Linked DNA regions of Homo sapiens: region 1 is linked to region 2. The links are contacts of gene promoters, found by promoter capture Hi-C in blood cells and fetal thymus (Javierre and others, 2016). All regions are on one chromosome and are shown on one strand. The core of a region is centred on a gene start or on the middle of the fragment in contact, and the rest is flanking DNA. Distances in the headings are between cores, read along the strand shown. Region 1 overlaps CD86 (CD86 molecule). Region 2 holds the start of PARP14 (poly(ADP-ribose) polymerase family member 14).

The links. The method cuts DNA at HindIII sites, captures the fragments that hold promoters and counts their contacts. A CHiCAGO score of 5 or more calls a contact.
Region 1: a contact is called between a fragment that was not itself captured here and the fragment with the promoter of PARP14 in region 2, in 1 of 17 cell types (fetal thymus). The highest score is 7.3, in fetal thymus.

The regions. Positions count from the first base shown.
Region 1 is chr3:122,100,343-122,104,246 of GRCh38, forward strand. CD86 (CD86 molecule) reads left to right here. Exons shown (of 7, transcript NM_175862.5): 3 at 3,170-3,505. Among named protein-coding and RNA genes, the nearest start is that of CD86, 47 kb to the left of the region's middle. RefSeq lists an enhancer at 718-907. The HindIII fragment of the contact is 1,321 bases long and covers 1,402-2,722 here.
Region 2 is chr3:122,678,639-122,682,556 of GRCh38, forward strand. PARP14 (poly(ADP-ribose) polymerase family member 14) reads left to right here and starts at 2,201. Exons shown (of 17, transcript NM_017554.3): 1 at 2,201-2,432. The coding sequence starts at 2,246. RefSeq lists enhancers at 1,189-1,308, 1,712-2,484, 1,909-2,308, 2,850-2,939 and a silencer at 2,549-2,598. The HindIII fragment of the contact is 13,941 bases long and covers 1-3,918 here.

The DNA.
Region 1 (3,904 bases), core at 812-3,311, 580 kb before region 2:
AGCAAGTGGCTTCCTTTGGGTGAAGCCAGATTTCACTGAAATAATAACCTCAGGGAAACAGTCAATGAAGGGGTTAAAGATGTGGGAGAGTTTCCTTGTAGTAAGTAATGGAATGAGGCTTTCAAAGGGCCAAGTAAAACTTTGGAGGAAGTTTAGTAAAAGAAGGAATTTTTTTTAGTACAGATAAGCATAGGAACATAAAGAAGAGATAATTCTTAAACATATAAGATATGCATTTGGGGATAGCAGCCAGGGAACACTGAAGTCCCAGTGGGGTCAGAGACTTCATAAGGCTAGCAAATTACAGTTTTTGAGTGGCATTCCAACAGTAGAGTGTATTGCTCAGGAAGTCCTTAATTATCCTTTGAAACAAATTCCTTCAGCTGATTACGAAGGCATCTAGCTGGATTCTTGAGCGACTTGTTCCTGACATCATAGCAACCCATTGTAACTAGACTTCGACCATTCCTCTTACCCAAGTGCTGGGGAAGGGAGAGATTCTCAATGCTTACCCACCTATGGAATCCCAGTAAGTCCAGTTGCTAGGTGGCTTGAGGTCTGGGGTCATAAAATGGAAGGCCTGAAGTCATTTGGTGATCACAGACCTTGAGCCAAACTTTCCCCATTTAGTCAGAGAAAGGATTAGCAGCATCCCCCATGCCTGGCTCTGTGTGAGATCATGGAAGCCAGTGGTTGGTGAGGTGCTATGGAGTATAAATTGCAAAATACTTTCAGTTCCACTCAGAATGGATTTCAAAGTGATTTCCACCCCATGGGGAGGAGAGGGAGTCTGAGGAGGGATGGATGGAAAAAAAATTTTCATGTCATTTTCTGTGATCCACTCTGGAGACAGAGGCAGAGATTCTCTACAACAGCTGCTCAAACTATAGCTCTTGTTAAAATGGAGGTTCTGAATCAGTAAGTCTTGGGTGGGGCCAGAGATTCCGTGTTTCAGACCAGCCCACATGTGACGTGAATCTCATTGGTCCATACATCACACTTTCAGTTGCTAGGTGAAGAAGGGAGCACTCGATGAGTGGAAGAGAAAGCCGTTGTAATCTTTGGGAGAAGGGGCCTGGGTCAGCGGAGTTAGACTGGTCTGTGAGTGGACAGAATGGATGGGAAGGAAAGAAGATACTGTGAGGCTCTACAGAAAAAAAAAAAAAAAAAAATATATATATATATATATATATATATATGTAAATCAAGAAGACAGAAGCAGCTAAAGACGAAGTCATTTCCAGGTCCAGAAGGCACAACTGACAGCTGAGTAATAACATAACATTGACTGTTAATTGGCAGAATTTTTAACTGTGTGTTTGGTTTCTCCATCAGGTCATCTGTCCTATATTACATGACAATTTAGACTAAAACCAGTATTTCCTCAGAGACAATGCTAGAAGCTTTTACAGTAGGGGGCACTCTTGCATTACATTAAGAGCTCAGCAAAGAAGATGCAGAAGCCTCAGGTTTGCCTTGTAAGGTGATTCATAAACACACTAAATCTTCCTTAGGTCTCCCTTTCACTGTCAGGGTACGCATATAGATTTTCCTTCCTCCCTCCAATACCGGTACGCATCCTCTACAGGTGGTGCATTTTATACCTCAAGTACTTCACAGGGTCCTAGTGAGTGTAGTGAAATAGGCAGTGATTCATATTTGTGCAAACTCCCACTGATGCCTGCTGTCTGCTTCCCTAAGAGTTCAAGACCACCACCAACCCCTTGATTATGTGTTCTCACTGGGCCACTCTGTACACAGTTTAGTTTGACAAGTGCATGTCACTGTTATCTGTCCTTCTATTCCCTCTTTCAAGAGAAACCACATCAATTTAATTACTCCCCCACTTAGAACTCTTCAAATGAAGCTCCTCTCATCTCTCTCATCAACCCATCTCCTCCCTTTCCTCCTCAATGTCAACATGCCTTCACATAAATCCTGAATGATGAAATTTTATTTAGAACTTACACTAACTTCCTCTCCAAGGTGGCATCTAACTTCATATTAAGTAAGAAACAGCCTTCCCACTCTCCACCCCCGCACTTCTCACCCACCACTGCTTACTTTTTTTTTTTTTTTTTTTTTTTTTTTGCCAAGTCTCAAGTAATTCTGTAACCTAGAAAAGGTCCTACACAAACCCCGTGATCATTCACATTTAAGTAGTTGGGTGGCCCACATCCTTCCCACAAACCCCAAAGTGTCCTCAAGGACTAAAGCCTTTCTCTCAACCCTTCCAGCATGATGTCTATGGTTGTAAAATTGTCCAGGGTCAGTGCATACTGGGAGCAGCAAGTTTGTGGTGCCTGGGGTTTCCCCAATACTCCCAAAGCACATCCTCACCTGCCCATCTATGATTCATTTTCAGCATTTCACTCATGTGCCTTAAATGGTCATTGACCACCACAATCCGAAAACAGCCATCAAATTTGCCCAGTTCTCTTTCTGATCTCTGAAAGAGCTTAGAGAGGTCACTGAAAATAAAGGCCTTGGTTCACTATCGAAGTCATTTCTAAAGCATTTGACATCCTTGGAAGTGCTGGCCATGGGAGCAGCAGTCATAGGGGAAGTTCTGTAAAGGGAGCTATTTGAATTTCAAAGATGTTACTCAACGTGATTCCCCAACTAATGAAGTATAATAAAGGGGGGCTATAATTTATTACCATTATCAGCAATCTTTTCACCATAGCAGACCAAGGAATATGTGGATGGGAGGGGAGGGGAAAGCTTTTGGTGATGGTGTAGAAGTTATGGAACCTGTAACAGCTACAGTGATGAAAACTAAAATTAAGGTTATAGGAAGGTAACTGGTGGGTGAATGGGTTGTCTAACTCTACTGGTTTTTCCCTGTCTTGCAATTTAAATTCACAGAACCACAGTACTAGAAAGACCCTTGGAACATTTAGTCAACCACTTCATTAATCAGATGAGGAAACTGAGGCTCATAAAGATTGCAGTTTGTACAAGGCCACACATTTAGTCAGCGGTGAAGCAAGGACAAAGGTCCTAATCTCCAGATGCCAAGCAGATGTGCACAGTTCCAGAGCTTAATATCTTATTCTTCAGCATGATTACTGATAAGATAGTATCTGGGTATTGTATAAAGAGAAATGGAGGTTTTTTCCCCTTTCCTCTTGTTTCTCCCTCCCTAATCCTTAACCTTCTTTTTTAGGTGCTGCTCCTCTGAAGATTCAAGCTTATTTCAATGAGACTGCAGACCTGCCATGCCAATTTGCAAACTCTCAAAACCAAAGCCTGAGTGAGCTAGTAGTATTTTGGCAGGACCAGGAAAACTTGGTTCTGAATGAGGTATACTTAGGCAAAGAGAAATTTGACAGTGTTCATTCCAAGTATATGGGCCGCACAAGTTTTGATTCGGACAGTTGGACCCTGAGACTTCACAATCTTCAGATCAAGGACAAGGGCTTGTATCAATGTATCATCCATCACAAAAAGCCCACAGGAATGATTCGCATCCACCAGATGAATTCTGAACTGTCAGTGCTTGGTATGTGGTCAATGGTGTGTGTTCAGATTCTTAGCCTTCTCAGATGAGACTGCAAATGAGTTAGAAAAACACTGGAGGGGGACTTGAGGGGCCCAGGGGAAAAGGGGGGTCTATAGAGAGAAGGCAGAGGACAGCCACTTCTGGGAAGTGCATTTGAAGGGAGTGTAGAGTCTGGGAGTAGGGAACTGAAAGTCTTTTGTACTTTTTATAGTCTGCTTCTGAAGGATCAGTAAAAATCTGCTTTGGGGAAAAAATAGAGCTAATTGAACAAAGATAATATGGCTAATTACCTATAGTAAAAACCATGGATAATTTGGCCATCACAAAGTTTATATAACCATAAAGGCCTCAGATGTCTTACATTCATTTTTTCCTTGGGTCCAAGATTTTTCACCTACT
Region 2 (3,918 bases), core at 951-3,450:
GGAAAGGGAAGTTCAGCCCAAAAATGCAGACATGGGCTGTTACATTAAGATGAGCTGTAGCTGTGAAGTAGAAGGAGAATCAAGGAACACGGCCACTTCTACAGCAGGCCACCCCCACCCCAGGCCCTGAGAAGACACGTGCTTCCCAGGAAGAAAGGATCAGAAGGCAGATACCCACAGGAAACAGAGAATTGTGAGAGGATACGCATTCTTCAAGTGAACAAGGCAAAAATAACTTGCAGAAAACAAAGTACTGCAGGAGCTAATGCCGTTCAACAATTTGCCCCTTCTAGAACTTTCTTTCCTTGGCTTTCAAGACCTGCCATCCTGATCCTCTGATAGCTCCTTCCCAGTCCACCCAGGCATGATAAGCAGACCTCGGTGGTAAGACACATTGTCGATAATTAAATAAATCCTCGAAAGTAATCCAGAAATGCCTCTGACTTTATTTCTTATACAATAATTATGTGAGGAAAAAGGGAAACTTTTTGCTGAGTTCTGGAACCCCAAACTCAGGGGAGAGTGGGAGAGGAGGAGTGCTGATTTTAGTTGTGGTTTGGGATGAGATGTAAAGGCCCTGGGGAGAAACAGTCACCAAGTCTGGCTGAGGGCGCTTGTCCTCCCGTCTTCCGCATGCGGGGGTCCAGAGCAGTTTTGGATCAGATGATGAGCGCCATCTGCAGGTAGCAAGCTGGAGGCAGGAGAAAATATCTGTGTACTGTTTAGGATTATTACAGAGCCGAAATAAAAGCCAGGTAAACCATTTGGCCCATCTCTGGTTCTCTTCATTCTGAAATTCAGCCCGATCCTGTAACCCCACAACCTACTGCCTGGCTCCTTCTTCCCCTTCACGGTCACATTTCTGCAAAGAGCGTGTTACGCTCTCTGCTTCCACTTCCTTCCCTCCCTTTCAGTCTTCAGTAGCTGCCATCTCCCTCTCCTCCCTCCTCACCAGGAGACTATGCTTGCCGCTCCTCAGCAGTCCAGCAGACACTTCTCTGACCTGAGGTATCGGTAGCACTGGAATGATAATCCCCCCGCCCCCCTCGACTTGCAACACTGCTTTATTTGGGGTCAAGGAAACACACAGCCCCAGCTTCTCTCCCATCACTCGGCCTCCCCTCTTGCAGATGCCACTATTATCCAGCCACTTGCACGGGCCATCCATGGCTGACCATGGAGTCATCCTTGAGCTTCTCCTTCTCTCAAGGCTCACATTCTTCAGCAAGTCCTGCTTTCACTATTAATTGAGAATCCTCGTTTTCTCAGTTCTTCTCTGCCAGCACCCCAGTCTCAGCCACCCTTGTCTCTCACTTAGGACACTATGGTAGCCACTTGGCTGATCTCTCTGCCTCCACTCTAGCCACCACGCAGCAGCCGGAGTGATCCTGTACATGTGAATCACACCGTGGAACCCCACTTCCTAACCCTCCAAGGCTATCCCCTGATATCCTGGGGTTATCAGGTTACATGTCACCGCCCTATAAACCCTCCCTGAGCCGCCACAGCTGGACTAGGAGCCACTCCTCATCTGTTCCAGGAACACAAGTATATTCTTTCCCAGAGCACCTATTGCCCACTGTGTTCACCATAGCTCCGTGAGCTCAGCGAGGGTTCAGTGAGTGAGTGCATGGCGCCTAGTAAATATTCCACAAAAAAAACTGTGAGTGTAATTGTTTCCCCCACATTTCTAGACATGTAGTATTAACAGATCAAGGAACAGAAAGCAAAACAGGGAAAGCAACGTAAAATTCTGATAATCACAATGATTGCTGAAAAAGTCCCCAAATAGGCAGCAAACATTCTAAAGGGGCCACAGTTTGTGAGTCATTTTATTCTTTTGTAAAGGGTCGGCTTGCGGCAAAAATTAAATGATCTTTGCGTTTGGGCAAGGTCTGGTGCCCCAAAGCTGCCGACTTGATCTGCGGTTGGGGCGAGCGGCAGGTAGGGGGCCCGGAGTTAGGAGGGGGTGTGGGAGCCCGTGGAGCACAGGTGAACTGAGGCCGCCTTCCCGGGGCGCCGCTGGCCAGCCCCAAAGGGTTACTTTGGCCTTGGCTGTGGGCCGAATGCGAAGGTGGGGAGGTGGGCGGGGGATGACTCTGCCATTCCTGGGTCCGCTGTGTTAGGCTGAAGGCAAAAGGAAACCAAGGCCTGGGAGTTTTCCAGGAAACGAAAGCGAAAGAGTCAAAGTTAGCGGCCCGGAGTTGGCGCGGCCCCTGCAGTCCGGCGGAGAGCGGAGCTGAGGATGGCTGTGCCCGGCTCCTTCCCGCTGCTGGTCGAGGGCTCCTGGGGCCCCGACCCCCCGAAGAACTTGAACACCAAGTTGCAGATGTACTTCCAGAGCCCGAAGAGGTCGGGAGGCGGCGAGTGTGAGGTCCGCCAGGATCCCAGGAGCCCATCCCGCTTCCTGGTGTTCTTCTACCCGGAGGACGGTGAGGGGCGCGAGGGGTGGGGTGAGGAGGGGGCACCTCTGCCCTCCCTCCAGGGAAATGGCGGCAGGGCACGCACGGGAGGGTGACCCGCCCGACTTCGGCGGCTGCTGTAGCGGAGGTGGCCGGGGCGGGGGCGGGGGCGGGGGCGGCAGAATGGATTCCGAGCGCACCCGGGGCGCTGCGGTTCCCCGGCGCCCTGCGCTTCCAGGCGCTTAATGGCGCGGCCCGGAGGTGGCGGCGGAACCGCGCAAGTAACTCTTTATCCCTCGATCGTTTTCTGTCTTTCCCTGTTGTGGTGGTGTTATTGTTTGTTGTTGTTGTTGTGGAAGTGAGTCTATCCTCTTATCATCCTTTTCTGTCTTTTCCTGTTGTTATTATTCTTGTGTGGGGAAGGAAACTGATTAAGAAACGTGGCAAGTCACAGAGATTCCTTGTGGTTCTTGGAGATTCCCAGGGGTCCCGGGGTCACTTGGGAGAGGGGCAGAGGCGCTACCTAAAATCACACTGCCTGAATGTCAACGTAGAGCCGTCACAGCGGCCACATTGGAGGGGCTGTCGATCGACCACAGGTGCCCATTGTCGAGGGCCTGCCGGGGCCTCTTCTCCGAGTCTCTAGTGGCCCTCAGATTGGGAGCAAGGATGATATTCTGAAGTGATTGTGGGTTGGGAGATTTGAGCTTTGGAGGGAAAGTCGGCAAAGTTCCCTCCTTACAGACCCACCACTACTTGGTGGGCCAAGAGCCCAGAGGTGATCTGCTGGCTCAAGGGCCTCCCTGGTCTGCAATGGGAAGCCAGTGACCTGCAGCTCCCAGAATGGGCACCTTTTCCACTGGCATCTTATGGATGATGACCTATCGGGATCTAGTCAACCCCTAATTCCGCTTTCATGTCGCTAGATTTGGAGAAGCATTCGGGCCAGAGGAGAGGCAAGGAGGCTGAGGCTGAGGCCATGCAATTAGAGTGCCCAAGCAGGGATCCAAAAAGGAAAAATGAAACAGAAAAAGAATGGCGCACAGAAGGAAGGAAGGAGGGGGACAGGAGATATGCTTGGCTCATGGCCCTTATGAAAACAAAATACCATGTTTTCCTAGGATTAATTTTACCAAGGAGTGCTCAGAAGGGCAACTGTGTGATATTAGTCATTTCTCTTTTGGGTGTCACTTTTCCTTGAGGGTTTTCCCCACTTTGACTTCAGAGGTCAGCATCACCATCGATCTGGCCCTTAAGGATGCTTCTTTCTCCTTTAGATTCCATTATCCTTAGAAGTAGGTCTGACCTGCATCTGAATCACCTGGAGAGCAGGTTAACCAGGCACCTTCCCAGCTCTGTTTTAGAGATTCAGGTTCAGTGAATGTGGGGTGGGTGGGAAGCGTGTATTTAACCGGCAGCCCAGGTGACCCTAATGTGTTCAAGTTTCAGAATTTCCGTAGTTAATGTTAACCCCAAATGAACAAAAAGAAATAATTATACAAATTTAAACAGCATG